Regions from separate parts of the Homo sapiens genome. Here region 2 is linked to region 1. The links are contacts of gene promoters, found by promoter capture Hi-C in blood cells and fetal thymus (Javierre and others, 2016). All regions are on one chromosome and are shown on one strand. The core of a region is centred on a gene start or on the middle of the fragment in contact, and the rest is flanking DNA. Distances in the headings are between cores, read along the strand shown.

Region 1 (7,443 bases), core at 3,682-6,181:
AATAGGGAAAGCTGGGCCAGGTGGCTCACACCTGTAATCCCAACACTTTGGGAGGCTGAGGCATGTAGATTGCTTGAGCCCAGGAGTTTGAGACCAGCCTGGGCAACATGATGAAACCCCATCTTCATAAAAAAAAAAAATGCAAAAGAATTAGCCGAGCATAGTGGCACATAGCTGTAGTCCCAGCTGCTTGGGAGGCTGAAGTGGGAGGATCACTTGAGCTTGGGAGGTTGAGGCTGCAGTGAGCCAGGAAGTGTACCACTGCACTTCGGTCTGGGTGACAGAGCAAGACCCTGTCTCAAATAAATAAATAAATAAATAAAAGGAGAAGGAGAAGGAGAAGGAAAAAAGCCAGAGAGGGAAGCGAGTGGAAGTGTGAGATTGTAGATCTGTTAGGACCATTAGGGCCACTGGAAAGACTTACTTCGGCTTTCACTTTTGGCATATCCAGACATCTGCTTGCACTACCACAGACTGAATAATCCTTTAAAGACAGTTCAGGTTATTTTACTACTTGCTTACAACCTTTCAGTAACTTCCCATCTACAAGGCCCTGCAGGATCTGTGCCGCATCTTTGACTCTACCTTCCTTGTCTGCCTTTCTCCTCAAATAGTATACACCCCAATCTTATTTAGACCCTCATGTTTTCCTCTCTCACAGTATCCTATACCTTTATTTTTTTACCATTAAAAAAGTGTGTGTGACCATTATTTACTTCACATCTATCACCTTTCACTTAAAAACGCAAGGGGCAAAGTCTTGTTCTCCTCTGTGTATCAGCACCAAATTCAGTCCCTGGCACTGGATGAATATTTTATAAATATTTTTGAATATGTAAATGAATGAATAAATGAAATGCAGTATAATCAAAATCAAAAGCATGACTTATAAGTGAATCTATTTTATCCTCAGACCACTAAATTCTTAAGTGTGTAAATACATGAAGATAATACTTTTTAAAATTGTTTCTCCCAGAAAAGAGAATTGATTTTAAACAATTCAAATCAGTGGGCTATGTGTATATAATTATTCACTTGTTAAAGATAATTAGTTTGGCTTTCACCGTTTTTCTTGAAAACTACAAAGTCCTAATGGATGAAGAGACAATAGGTTGGAAAATGGATGAATGTTACTGTGGCTAGAGATGAAGAGACAAGGTATTGACCCCACCCTCTTTGTTGTAACAGTTTCTGGAAAATCTATTTGTTGAAATTTGCTTTGTGATGGGAGCTTAGATGACTCCTAATTTAAAGGACTAATGAATAAGCTAGTGTTGGAGTCTCAAGTAAAACCTTCATAAGGATAGATGTCTTGGGGTCCAGCTTCACCCACAAATAGGTTCTGGGGCCTAGTTTCGTATTTTCACCACCTCTGTCATCCTTCTCACCCTGTTTTAGGGGGTGTTCACATAGAAGTCATGAACAGTAGCAAGAAGAGGATCTGAAAGAATGATACTGAGGAAGGAGGCAGGGCATCCTGACCTCTGTCCTCTCTTGTCAACAGTGTGAAACACGAACAAGTATTCAAGGTTAAAATTTATTGTAGATCAATAGGGCATGAGTTAGACTAGACAGGGTGTTCAGTTCCCAAACCCAGTGTGATGTTTAATTGTTATGTTTAATTTTATACATCAACTTGACTAGATCATAGGTTGACCGTGGGCACTACTTCAGGGGCTGTCTGTGAGGGTATTTCTGAATGAGGTTAATATTTGAATTAGTGGATGCACTAAAGCTGATTGAGGGTCCATTGAAGGCTGAGTAGAACAAAAAACAAAGGAAGGGAGAATTAATCCCTTCTTCCTGACCCCAGTCTTTTGCTGACTTTGGACTGAGACTTATACCTTCTGCTATGATGGTTCTCAGGCTTTCAAGCTTGTACTGAACAACACCTGCTTTCCTGGGTCTCCAGCCTGCAAATGGCAGGTTGCAAGCCTTCTCAGCCTTCATAATCATGTCAGCCAATTCCTCATAGTAAATCAACTTTTCTATGTATCTCTTACTGGTTCTGTTTCTCTGGAGAACTGTGACTAATACAGATTTTGGTACCAAGAGTTGTTCTAGAGGGACAGAATGTTAAGGATGAGTTTCCTGATGGTTCCAGGGTTCTTGGGATTGGTACTCTGATCTTATTAAACGTGTTAATGATTCTTTCCAGTTAGTAAAGTGAGCACTGAGTGCATAGCATGATCTGGCAATAGAAATACACAAAATAATTGCATTGGCCACTTCTAATCAGCCAGTTATAAGAGGCAAGGAGCTGGCTAACTGTGTATATGATATTTTTTTTTGATTTTTGGAAAACTAATTGTTGATGGCTGTTATGAAACCTTTGTTCTTGTCTTCTTAGTCTAAAAGAACTTAAGAGACACAGAGTGGAGAAGTTGCAGCATTAAACAATTCATTGCAAAGGAAAAAGAATATTTTGAAAGTTAAGTGCACAATAGATAGTACATCCTTAGAGAGAGGATTCAGTACAGGCTGCTGGTAAGGATGAGATCATAAAGACTGGCACTAGGGAGACTCCCTTTCTGGGAGTCTTACATGATTAATCATAAGGGGGTGGGAAGAGGTGTTACTAGTAAGCATGTTCTGGGTGGTCCTCTGGGTGCACAAGAGCAGTAGCTGTACATGCTTGTTCATATATCGCATGTCTCATTAGCATCTTAAATCTCCACCCAGCAGTGGGTTTTTTACTATTATAATGAACAAAGGGTCAGGCTGAGGATAGGTAAAATCAAAATGTATATGCTATATACAGGGAAATTTCCTACTGAAGATAGCTTTGCTTGAATTAGCTTGACTACAATGTGAATGCTGGGGCTTATTTTGTTAAAGTATGTGGTGCAGTAAGCCACAGTTGCTGCATACCAAGGGCATGTTTACTTCCTTGACTACCTATTCTGCCTCATAATGAGTATAATGAGGACAGTTGGTTGTTTCTAATGTCACTGGATAAAGTGGTGCAAAAGTGAGTGTAGGGATTTTTATTCCCAGCTCAAGTGCTCCATAAATAATCTGAAAGCTTCTATGTGCACCCTGAAGAAAACCCTATCTCCTGTAGCCCCAGAGCTGAGACTGTTGAAAATCAAACACAGCATCTCATCCTGTGACTGGCTGAATTACAACACAAATTAGAATTCCAGCCTTGCAGAGTGACTATTGTCAAAAGGAGGGCACTTACTGAAAAAAAAATGGGATTCTGTAAATTAGGATTGGGACATATGGGAAGACCTTGATGAAGCTGGGGACATTAAGCCCCTAAATTCTGATGAGTCTTCTTTGCTAGTGGAGAGGCTTCTCAACCCCATTGGAAGCAGCTTCTCCATTTCCAGTGATAGTACCCTCCAACCTGTCTGTGATGATTAACACTGCATTGCCTGAGGAAATTGTAATGGCCTCCTTTGAGGCAGTTGATATGCAAGACAATGTTGGTTCTCCTCCAGACCCAACTCCACCACCCTTCTTTGCTTCTAGACCTGAAACTAGACAGGAACAAAGTGTTACCTATGAAGAGATGTGCTATACTCCAAAGAGTTACTCAAAGTCTCTAATTTATACAGACAAAAATCTGGGAACATATGTCGGAATGGATAATAAAGGTGTTGGAAAATGATGGAAGGAACATAAAGTTGGATCAGGTCAAATTTATTGACATGGGCTCACTAAGCCAAGATTCTGCATTTAACATTGCAGCTTGGGGAGTTAGAAAGGGTGCTCACAGTTTGATTGGCTTACTAAAACATGGAAAAGATGAATTGGAAGTGCTGGACATGCCTTGGTTTAATCTAGAGGATGGGATTAAAAGGTTTAGGAATATTGGGAAATTAGATTTTTCACTTAAGAACTACTCATCTCGGGTGGATCATGAGGTCAGGAGATCGAGACCATCCTGGCTAACAAGGTGAAACCCCGTCTCTACTAAAAATACAAAAAATTAGCCGGGCGCGGTGGCGGGCGCCTGTAGTCCCAGCTACTCGGGAGGCTGAGGCAGGAGAATGGCGTGAACCCGGGAAGCGGAGCTTGCAGTGAGCAGAGATTGCGCCACTGCAGTCCGCAGTCCGGCCTGGGCGACAGAGCGAGACTCCGTCTCAAAAAAAAAAAAAAAAAAAGAACTACTCATCCACACTGGGAAGGTCAAGAAAGCATACCTTTCACCAATACTATGAGAAAGAAATTTGCGAGGAGAGCTCCAGCATCTTTTTCAGAACTCTGTGATGGCTCTTCTCTGTAGGCCAGAGCTCACTGCAGTCACTGAACTGGAAAACCTAAATATAATGGAAGTAAAGGATCCCAGGGTGGCAAGGGTCAAGTAATGGGACTCAACCACCAAAGGCAAGGTGAAGTGGTTATCATAATGACAGAGCCAAAGGAACAATTAGAATAATCTCACTTGTAGACCTATGCTTTGGCTAGTTGATCATGGTTTTCCTAGACGTGAAATAGATAGGAAGCCTACTGAAGTCTTAACTTGATCTGTATAAGCAGAAAACTTCTAAGTCAAGTGACGAAAGTTGAACTCGAATCATAAAAACAGAATCGTGGTCCCTTAATTCCCAAACTTGAGCCACTTTATAGAGCCCAAAACCCTTTGATTGAAGGGGAGGACCTCAAAGGGACCCTGGTCCATAACCAAATGTTTATACTGTTAGTCTTTCTCCTAGTCCTCCGCAAAGGGATGTACAACCTTTACCAACGTAACTGTGCATTAGAAAAAGGGAATAATCAGATCTTTTGTGAACTAGTGGACACTGGCTCTCTGAAGTGACACTAATTTCAGGAGATCCAAAGTGCTACTGTCAGGGTAGCAGCTTATGGAGGTCAGGTGATCAGCAGAGTTTTAGCTTAGTTCCATCTCACAATGGGCCCAGTGAATTCCTGAACCTATCCTGTGGTTATCCCCTAGTTCTAGAATGTATAATTAGAATACAGTCAGCAGCTGACAGAATAATCCACACATTGGTTTCCTTACCTATGGAGTGAGGGCTATTATGGTGGAAAAGGCCAAGTAGAAGCCACTAGAACTATCTGTACTTAGGAAAATAGTAAACCAAAAGCAATGCTCAATTCCTATAGGGACTGAAGAGATTAGTGCCACCATAAGTACTTGAAGGAAGGCGGGGTGGTGATTCCTACCATATGTCCATTCAACTCGCCTATTTAGCCTGGGCAGAAGACAGATGGATTATCACAAACTTAACTAGGTGGTGACTCCAATTGCAGCTACAGTACCAGATGTATTGCTTGAGCAAATTAACACAACTCCTGGTTCCTGGTATGCAGCTACCTGGTATGATCTGGCAAATGCCTTTCTCTCCATCCCTGTCTATAAGGCCGACCAGAAGCAGTTTGCTTTTAGCTAGCAAGGCTAGAAATGCACCTTCATGTCCTACCTCAGGGCATATCAACTCACCAGCCCTGTCCTAATTTTGTTCACAGGAATCTTGATTGCCTTTTCTTTCCACATCACATTGGTCCATTACATTGACGACATTATGCTCACTGGACCTAATGAGTGAGACATAGCAACTACTCCAGACCTATTGGTAAGACATTTGCATGTCAGAAGTGGGAAGTAAATCCAACAAAAATTCAAAGGCTTTTTCATGTCTCAGTAAAATTTCTAGGGGTCCAGTGGTATGAGGCATGTTGAGATACCCCTTCTAAGGTAAGTTTTTGCATCTGCCCCCTCCTACAACCAGAAGAGGCATGACATGCGGCAGGCCTCTTTGGATTTTGAAGACGTTTCCTCATTTGAGTTTGTTACTCTGGCCCATTTACTGAGTGACTTGAAAAGCTGCTAGTTTGGAGTAGGACTCAGAATAGGAAAGGTTCTGCAATAGGTCCAGGCTATTGTGTAAGCGGCTTTGTTGCTTGGGACATATGAACTTGCAGATCCAGTGGTATTTGAAGTGTCAGTGGCAGATAGAGATGCTGTTGGAACCTTTGGCAGGCCCACATAGATGAATCTCAGTGCAGACCCTTAGTATTTTGAAGAAAGACCTGTTATCCTATGCAGATAACTACTCTTTTGAGAAACAGCTCTGGGCCTACTGCTGGGCTTCAGTAGGGACTGAATGCTTACCGTGGTCAATTAAGTTACCATGCGACCTGAGCTGCCCATCATGAGCTGGGTGTTATCTGACCCACAAGCCATAATGCTGGGTGTGGACAGCAGGAGTACATCATCAAAGAACGTGTTATGTATGTGACTGGGCCCAGGCAGGACCTGAAGGCAAAAGCAAGTTACATGAAGAAGTGACCCAAATGCCCATGGTCCCTGTTCCTGCTACCTTGCCTTTTTTCTCCCAAGCTCATGGAGAGTTCCCTATGATGAGTTGACAGGAAGAAACAACATGGGCCTAGTTTATAGATGGTTCTGTGTGATATGTAGGCATCACCTGAAAGTGGATAGCCATAGTACACCAGCCCTTCTCTGGGACATCCCTGAAGGATAGTGGTAAAGAGAAATCCTCCCAGTGGGCAGAACTTTGGGCAGTGCACCTGGTTGTTCATCTTGTTACCCCATGTTGGCTAAAAGTAGAGGTCCTGAAGCATTTTATTATTTATTTATATATTTTTTAGAGATGAGGTATCACTATGTTGCTCAGGCTGGTCTTGAATTCCACCTGCCTCAGCCTCCCAAAGTGTTGGGATTATAGGCGTGAGCCACTGGGCCCAGCCCATTAAACCATTTTATTTTATTAGACAATTTTTCTAATTTCTACGTTTCTTCTGAACTTAATTTAAAAAACTGTATTTTAAAATTCAACCATGTATTAAGATCTAATAAAATAATAATGAAAAGCAATTCTGACTGATAGTCCCTGTTGAGCCATCAGTGAGAACACATTATAAAAAAGGTAGCTTATAAATATCATACCAATGATATGTGCAAAACAGGCATTTTAGAGAGAGATTTACCACTTTCCAAACAGTATCTTTTGTGATTCTGGGGACAAGGTGGTGTGGGTAGGGTAGAGATGATAAATACATCTTACATAGAAGCATGAATGTAACTTCATAAAATACAAGCTGAAAAATTAATTGGTTAAATGACTTACTGTGTAATTTTATTTCATATTACACAAATGTTAATCAAATGCTGAGTAGACATGCAGATGACAAGCAGTATATGACAAACTCTGAAGAAATAGTTACATGTAGAGTTTCTCAGATTTTTAGTGTATCTAAGAATTAACTGAAGAGTTTGTTAAGAATGCAGGCTTAAAGGCCAATCCACAGATTATAATTTCATACAAACAGGATGGAGCCTAAGAACCTGTAAATTATTAAACAACTGATTAAAAATAGAGAGGTTTCTATGAAGTTAGGCTTGTCCTTATTTCTTATTTGAACTGGACAAGTAGAAGGATAATAGGTAGGACCAAGTGAGCATTATCAGAATCAAAGTAGAGGCAATAACAAGCCAAGGTGTTTTAG
Region 2 (7,443 bases), core at 1,411-3,910, 3.4 Mb after region 1:
GGGTGAGTTTTAAAACATTTAATATACCTATGATTTGTTTTACAACTTGAAGAAAAGGCAGGCAGTCTTGTGTCTAATGAGCTTAATGCAAATTCTAATTATACTGCAAATAATTTAAAGTTTTGATTGCATTCTACAATTGTCTGTTTGGAAAATTACATATTATGAAGTCATTATATATTTTATCAAATCAGAAAAAGTCAGCTCAGGAACTGTAGCAGCAGGGAGTTCTAAAGATGACATGAACTATACTATAGGGGTGCCCTACTCTATATGGCCTAGGGCTTTGGTTTGGGTCAGTCTTGTTCTTTCAGATACATAACACCAGCAGTACTTTCGGGCTCACTTCAAGAACCAGATAACTCTCCCAAACCATGATACATGAAGTGTATAATCAAGATTTTTAATTAAGCTTTAGAATTCTTTATTTGTGTAGAGTGATGGAAATGACCAAGAAGTAATAATATAAAGCAAAAGAATTGGGAGAGATCAGGTTTTAAGTATATAAATATTTTTTTTTTCTCATGGCATATTCTCAAAGGTGTTTTGTTACAAACCAGATTTTCATTTTTTAAAAAATGAGACTTGGTGGTATTTAAAACCTACACCTACCATGTTGCTATTTCACTTTCATTGCTTTAGTTGCTTAATATTTAAGCTTTGCTTCATGCTACCTTTTGTCTGTATTTCAATCTTCATAAGCCTATTTTGTTTTGTAGACTTGAATGATAAAAATTGTTTCTCATCTTAAGTATGCTCAGAGTTTTAAATGTTAAAGAATGTTGTGTAACCTTTATCCAATAAAGTCTTTGATTTTTTAAAAATTTAGTTATTTAAAAATTATGTTTACTTTTTAGGAGTTAGTTTTTAAAGATTTTTTTTTTTTTTTTTTTTTTTTTTACTATTAGAATTCAATCACTAGTTGTACTTTAGGGAGCTGTTTTCAGTAGCAATGCTTCCTAAGGAGAACAGCCTGTAGGTTTCTAATCACTAGGAGATTTTATGGGACCTCTTTATGACGAAGGATGGAGGAAGGGTGAACAGTTTAATTAGGACCCTGTGCACAAACATAACAGCTTTTCGATAGAAACAACCTACCCTTCAGAATTGGATGTAATTAAATATCTGCTGCTGGGTTTGTCTTGTTTTCTTTTGTTTTAATTTTAAGGAATCCTGCCCTTATGGATAAATGGTTGCTTCTTTAAGAGCCCAGCACATTGAGTGAGAGGTCAAGGGTTTGACCTAAGAATCAGAAACACTTGGTTATCAGGAAAAAATTAGCCTTTTAAAACCTACAGACAGTTCACAGGACTGACCCAGAAACTTAGGTCAATGTACTTTTTTTTTCTGTTCAAGAAAAGCAATCCTTTGGCTGCCTGTTATTCCAGAGTACATGAAGGCTTTAATCTCAAACATTCTCCCATTTCAGTTTATTTAAATGAGTGTAAAAAAGAGACCACAGGAATCTGGCTCTGCTAATATCTTTTTTCTCTCAAATTTCTCACTAATGAAAATGGAACAGGGAGAACCAGGGAAGATTAACAAGCCATGTGCTCATTATCTGAGAGGGCCTACAGGAGACTCATACTGATCCTGGTCATGTATACATGTATCAGTATATTTATAGACACAACTCCTACAAGATGGAGGGAATGAATGATGGAACCAATAGAAGCAACTGAAAATCTTACCAATGCTGGCCTTCACATAAGAAAGCGTAAGTTCATTTTTCCTTTTTCAAGTAAAGATTTTTTTTTTTTAATTTAAATAATAGAGACAAGGTCTCGCTTTGTTGTCCAGGCTGGTCTCAAACTCCTGGGCTCAAGTGATCCTCCTGCCTCGGCCTCCCAAAGTGCTGGGATTATAGGCATGAGCCACTGCACCTGGCCATGATTCTTTTATCAGAATAAGAAATTATTTGAATAAAGAGGTTTTTTTTGTTTTTTTTTTTGTTTTTTTGAGACGGAGTCTTGCTCTTGTTGCCCAGGCTGGAGTGCAATGGCACGATCTTGGCTCACTGCAACCTCCGCCTCCCGGGTTCAAGCAATTCTCCTGCCTCAGCCTCCCAAGTAGCTGAGTTTACAGGCATGCGCCACCACCCCTGGCTAATTCTGTATTTTTAGTAGAGATGAGGTTTCTCCCTGTTGGTCAGGCTGGTCTCAAACTCCCGATCTCAGGTGATCCGCCTGCCTCGGCTTCGCAAAGTGCTGGGATTACAGCGTGAACAACTGTGCCTGGACTTTATTTATTTATTTATTTATTTTTTTGAGACAGATTTTCGCTCTTGTTGCCCAGGCTGGAGTGCAGTGGTGCGATCTCGGCTCACTGCAACCTCCACCTCCTGGGATCAAGCGATTCTCCTGCCTCAGCCTCCCGAATAGCTGGGATTACAGGCATGTGCCACAACTCCCAGCTAATTTTGTATTTTTAGTAGAGACAGGGTTTCTCCATGTTGGTCAGGCTGGTCTCGAACTCCTGATCTGAGGTGATCCACCTGCCTCAGCCTCCCAAAGTGCTGAGATTACAGGTGTGAGCCACTGCCTGGCCAGAATATGTTATTTTTTAAGCATCCTTTTCTCTAGTGATTAGCATGCTGCCAAATCTTTGCTTAATCGGAATGAAATTTTTTTTTTTTTTTTTTGAAACGGAGTCTCACTCTGTCACCCAGGCTGGAGTGCAGTGGCACGATCTCGGCTCACTGCAACCTCTGCCCCCTGGGTTCAAGAGATTCTCCTTCCTCAGCCTCCTGAGTAGTTGGGATTACAGGTGCTTACCCCCATGCCCGGCTAATTTTTGTATTTTTAGTAGGGAAGGGGTTTCGCCATGTTGGCCAGGCTGGTCTTGAACTCCCAACCTCAAGTGATCCACCCGCTTTGACCTCCCAAAGTGCTGGGATTACAGGTGTGAGCCACCGCACCCGGCTTGGAATGAAATTTCATGGCCTTAACAATTCCTTTGCTTTGGTACCAACAAGGTAGTGAGCTTGGGGTAAAGGAGAGTATGATTCAGGAAAACTGTGCCAGAAGAAGAGAGAGCTGGCCAAACAGTGGGAAGACATTGTCTTTAAGCGTTAAGAGTACTTTCAGGGTTAGCCCTTTCATTATTTCCTTGTGAGGCAAGTTTGTAGAAGCAGCTGTCTAAAGGAGGGAAAGTGGCTTGGTGATGTTAAAGATGTTTTTGGCCGGGCATGGTGGCTCACGCCTGTAATCCCAGTACTTTGGGAGGTCGAGGAGGGTGGATCATGAGGTCAGGAGATCGAGACCATCCTGGCTAACACGGTGAAACTCTGTCTCTACTAAAAATACAAAAATTAGCCGGGCGTGGTGGTGGGTACCTCTAGTCCCAGCTACTCGGGAGGCTGAGGCAGGAGGATGGCGTGAACCCGGGAGGCAGAGCTTGCAGTGAGCTGAGATCGCGCCACTGTACTCCAGCCTGGGCAACAAAGTGAGACTCCGTCTCAAGAAAAAAAAAAAAAAGAAATGTTTTTATACTAATAACCTGCCTTAGTCTAAAGAGGTAGGAGACATGGATTCTGTTATCAGTTCTATCAATGACCTTTGACAGCAAAGTCACACAGCAGCCTTATTGGCAAAATGAGGTGTAGAAATCCATCTCACCAAGCTCTTCAGTTCCTACTCAGCCAAGGCCGAAACCCCTGGGGAGATGTTAGGATTTTTTTTTTTTTTTTTTTTTTTTTTTTTGAGACGGAGCCTCGCTCTTGTTGCCCAGGCTGGAGTGTAATGGTGCAATCTCGGCACACTGCAACTTCCGCCTCCCAGGTTCAAGTGATTCTCCCACCTCAGCCTCCCGAGTAGCTGGGATTACAGGCACCTGCCATCATGCCTGGCTAATTTTTGATTTACTTATTCATTTATTTATTTTTGAGACGGAGTCTCACTCTGTTACCCAGGCTGGAATGCAGGCACCTGCCATCACACCTGGCTAATTTTTGTTTTATTATTTATTTATTTATTTATGAGACGGAGTCTCGCTCTGTTGCCCAGGCTGGAGTGCAGTGGTGCAGCCATGGCTCACTGCAGCCTCAACCTTGTGGTTCAAGTGGTCTTCCTGCCTCAGCCTCCTGAGTAGCTGGGACTACAGGTGTGCACTACCACCCCGAGCTAACAAAAAAAGTATTTATTTTGTAGCGACGGGGTTTCTCTGTTATCCAGGTAGTTCTAAACTCCTGGGCGAAAGCAATCCTCCCACCTCGCCCCCCGCAGGTGCTGGGATTACAGGCCTGAGCCACTGTGCCCAGCTCATAAACTGCCCCTTGAAGGGTTGTAAGCAGTCATTCTCATGCGCTAACGTTATTTTCACCCTACCTCTTGAACTGGCTGGTAGCAAGTAATCCATTTTTTTTAATTGACTTTTTTTCAGAGTCCATGCTAATCTTCTATCATTCCAATTTTAGTATATGTGCTGCTGAAGCAAGCACAGTAATCAATTTTTCATTTTCAGAAGCATTAATGGATCTGGTTTAGTGTGAGGTCAGGATAGCTCTGCACACAACAGGAGGAAGTGATTGCAAATTATAGCTTCCTTTCCCTGTACAGCTTTTAATTGTGCAGTTCACTGAAGGAACAGATTTTTCAGCCACTTCTGGTGGAATGCGCACATACTTTTTTAAAGGAAATCCAGGTGATGGAAGGATTAAGCTTGTTACTATCAAGTACCGAGGAAGCAGGCTGGCAAGAATCCTAACTGAAATCACTTCAAGGAGATTTGACTAAGATTGTATGGGTATGTATCAAGTACAGAGTATCCACAGATAAGATCAGAGGAAGAGTTTCTCTTCCCTATCCTCATCCCTCCTGTATTTTTTAAGGGGAGGGACGAGCATATGGAGGAAACCGGCACAGTAATGAAGGGAAGTGATCACAGAAAACAACAGGAAGGAACATACAATCCAGCTGGCAGCGACCATCAGCTGCAGGCTCATAAGGCTGCATCTGAATGGGGGCTGCGCAGCTGAGAGCCAACAGCTCCAGCCTTTCCTCTTAAGCCAAGGGCAATCTGGAGAGAGCACAGATAACAAGCAGAGGAAACGGATGAGGGCTCGTCAAGATATTTCCCATCCTACGTGGTGTCTCAGATTTGCGCTTTGGTCTTGGGGGATTATTGGACTCTTCCTCTTAAAGATCTTTCCCAAGATTAAAGCAACCATTCACTTGCACAACTGTCTTAATCATAGCCTTTCCCTTTGACATCCCAAGTTCTGCAGAACTGGTGGTAAAAGGATTTGCAGGCCTGCTTAGTTCTTGGGATCAGACCATGCTTGCAAAGATGTATCTTCCAACAGGTTTACATCTGCCGCCTGCCGCCAGCTTCTCATCCCACTATCTATTCAGGCAGTAAAATGCCTCTAAAAAGCTCCTGCGCCGGGTCTTCCTGCACCAACTTAGATTCTAGCTTGAAAGTTGAGTGAAATGTTACTTACCAGTAGTCTCAGAGGCCAGCTCAGAGACTAAAAAGGAGCACCAGAAATAACTACTAAGCCCGGCAACATCTCTTTTTCTTTTTGAGACAGGGTCTCATTCCCAGGCTGGAATGCAGTGGTGCCATCTTGGCTCACTGCAGCCTTGACTTCCTGGGCTCTGGTGATCCTCCCACCTCAGCCTCCTAAGTAGCTGGGACTACAGGTGTGTACCACCATGCCTGGCTAACTTTTTGTATTTTTACTAAAGATAGGGTTTCGCCATGTTGCCCAGGCTGGTCTCAAACTCCTGGGCTAAAGCTATTTGCCCGCGTTGGCCTCCCAAAGTGCTGGGATTACAGGCGTGAGCCACGGCGCCTGGCCAGCAACATTTCTTAAAGCACTCCCCTACTTTCAGTTACATAAAACGTCGTAGGAACTGCAACTCTCAGCATTTATGGATTACACAAACATTCATGTCTTTGGCTATATCCAAGCAGCTCTGAAGGACAGCGTATGAGGTCTTGTCATTTTGCCGAAGCTCAGATGTATGTCCAGTGCCACCATGTCCCTAAAGTTATAGGGACATCTATAACATGTAGGCTTAGTGACTCCCCAGCCTCCACATTTAGACATGGTATAACACTGTCTCCTTAAGTACAGTTATTTGTAAAGTGAGATGATGTGTGTTTTGCAGGGAATGGGACAAGGAGCAAAAGGCTAAAAAACAACCACAACAAACTGGCTGCAGTGCTTGTGATGGAAGGGAAGCACACATGGAAAAGCATAGTTTTTTGTTTTTTGTTTTTTTCTTTCAGAGACAGGGTCTCTCACTGTTACCCAGGCTGGAGTGTGGTGGCTCGGTCATAGCTCACTGCAGCCTCAAACTCCTGGGCTCAAGTGATCCTCCTGCCTCAGCCTCCCAACTAGCTGGGGCTGAAAGCATGTGCCACCATGCCTTGCTTGGTTTTAAAACATTTTTTGGTAGAGATGGGGTCTTAGTATGTTGACTAGGCTAAGGTCTTGAACTCCTGGTTTCAAGTGATCCTCCTGCCTCTGCCTCCCAAAGTGTTGGGATTACAGGTGTGAGCCACTGCACCCAGCTAGTTCTTAGAAAAATGGTTGAGATTTTTAAAATAGGTGAATTTAACAGCATGGATCCATGAGTAAAATGAAAGAATGAATCCACAGTGCACTCTACACAGAAAGACCACCATATGAGTATGAATTTGTTGTAGAAATCCCAATTTCCTGGGGAAGCCTCCTGCAGAGGCCCCAACCAATGGAAAAGCTGCTTCTGTGAAAACTGGAAAAGTAGTTACGATACAGTGTGGGAATATACAGAAAACACAAGACTTGATGGAAATGTGGCCTGGAGGTGAGGAGACTGAAACGAAAGGAAAAGTTGGGGATTTTTTTAATTCTTGGAAATATCCAAGATGCAAAAAATGAAAACTTAAAAACCAGGAGACAAACGCTTACATGCCAGGTTGAATGTTCATTCTACATGGCCGTGCAAGACAGGCTAGACTGGCTTAGAGTGACCTTCTTTACAGAATGCTTTTTATTTTTATTATGTATTTATTTTTATAGAGATGGGGTTTCGCTATGTTGCCCAGGCTGGTCTCAAACTTCTGAGCTCAAGTGATCCTCCCGCCTTGGCCTCCCAAAGTGTTGGGATTACACAGGCTTGAGCCACTGTGCTCAGCCTACAGAATGTTGTTTTGAGCTTCATGGGTATGATTACTGGATTCACTGTTGAGAAACCCTAGCTGAGCCCTCCAAATTTGCCAGAACTACACACTTAACGAAATAACACTACTAAGAAAGTTTACTTGAGTAACTAGGTCCAGAAACTCCAGGGTGAGGTGGCCACTTTGGGCAATACCGGGTTAAGTCACAGATAAGTTACTGACCTTGATTCGGTGATACCAAGCTGTTGTCTCTGTCTCCCACTGCATTCTTTGGACTGTGAAAAATAGCAAGTAAGCCTTTTTTTTTTTAGATAGGTTGGTTTCACTTTGTCA

What was found. Contacts are between HindIII fragments. The CHiCAGO score rates a contact against its expected background, and 5 or more counts as called.
Region 2: a fragment that was not itself captured here is called in contact with the fragment with the promoter of HMMR-AS1 in region 1 in 1 of 17 cell types (non-activated CD4 T cells); the score reaches 6.6 in non-activated CD4 T cells.

What each region holds. Positions count from the first base shown.
Region 1 is chr5:163,491,546-163,498,988 of GRCh38, reverse strand. HMMR-AS1 (HMMR antisense RNA 1) reads left to right here and starts at 4,931. Exons shown (of 4, transcript NR_109892.1): 1 at 4,931-5,290; 2 at 5,440-5,546. HMMR (hyaluronan mediated motility receptor) reads right to left here. Exons shown (of 18, transcript NM_001142556.2): 18 at 7,048-7,443. The HindIII fragment of the contact is 5,178 bases long and covers 3,028-7,443 here.
Region 2 is chr5:160,069,263-160,076,705 of GRCh38, reverse strand. It overlaps a transcript of PWWP2A not described here. Among named protein-coding and RNA genes, the nearest start is that of PWWP2A, 46 kb to the left of the region's middle. RefSeq lists a silencer at 4,937-5,137. The HindIII fragment of the contact is 4,000 bases long and covers 661-4,660 here.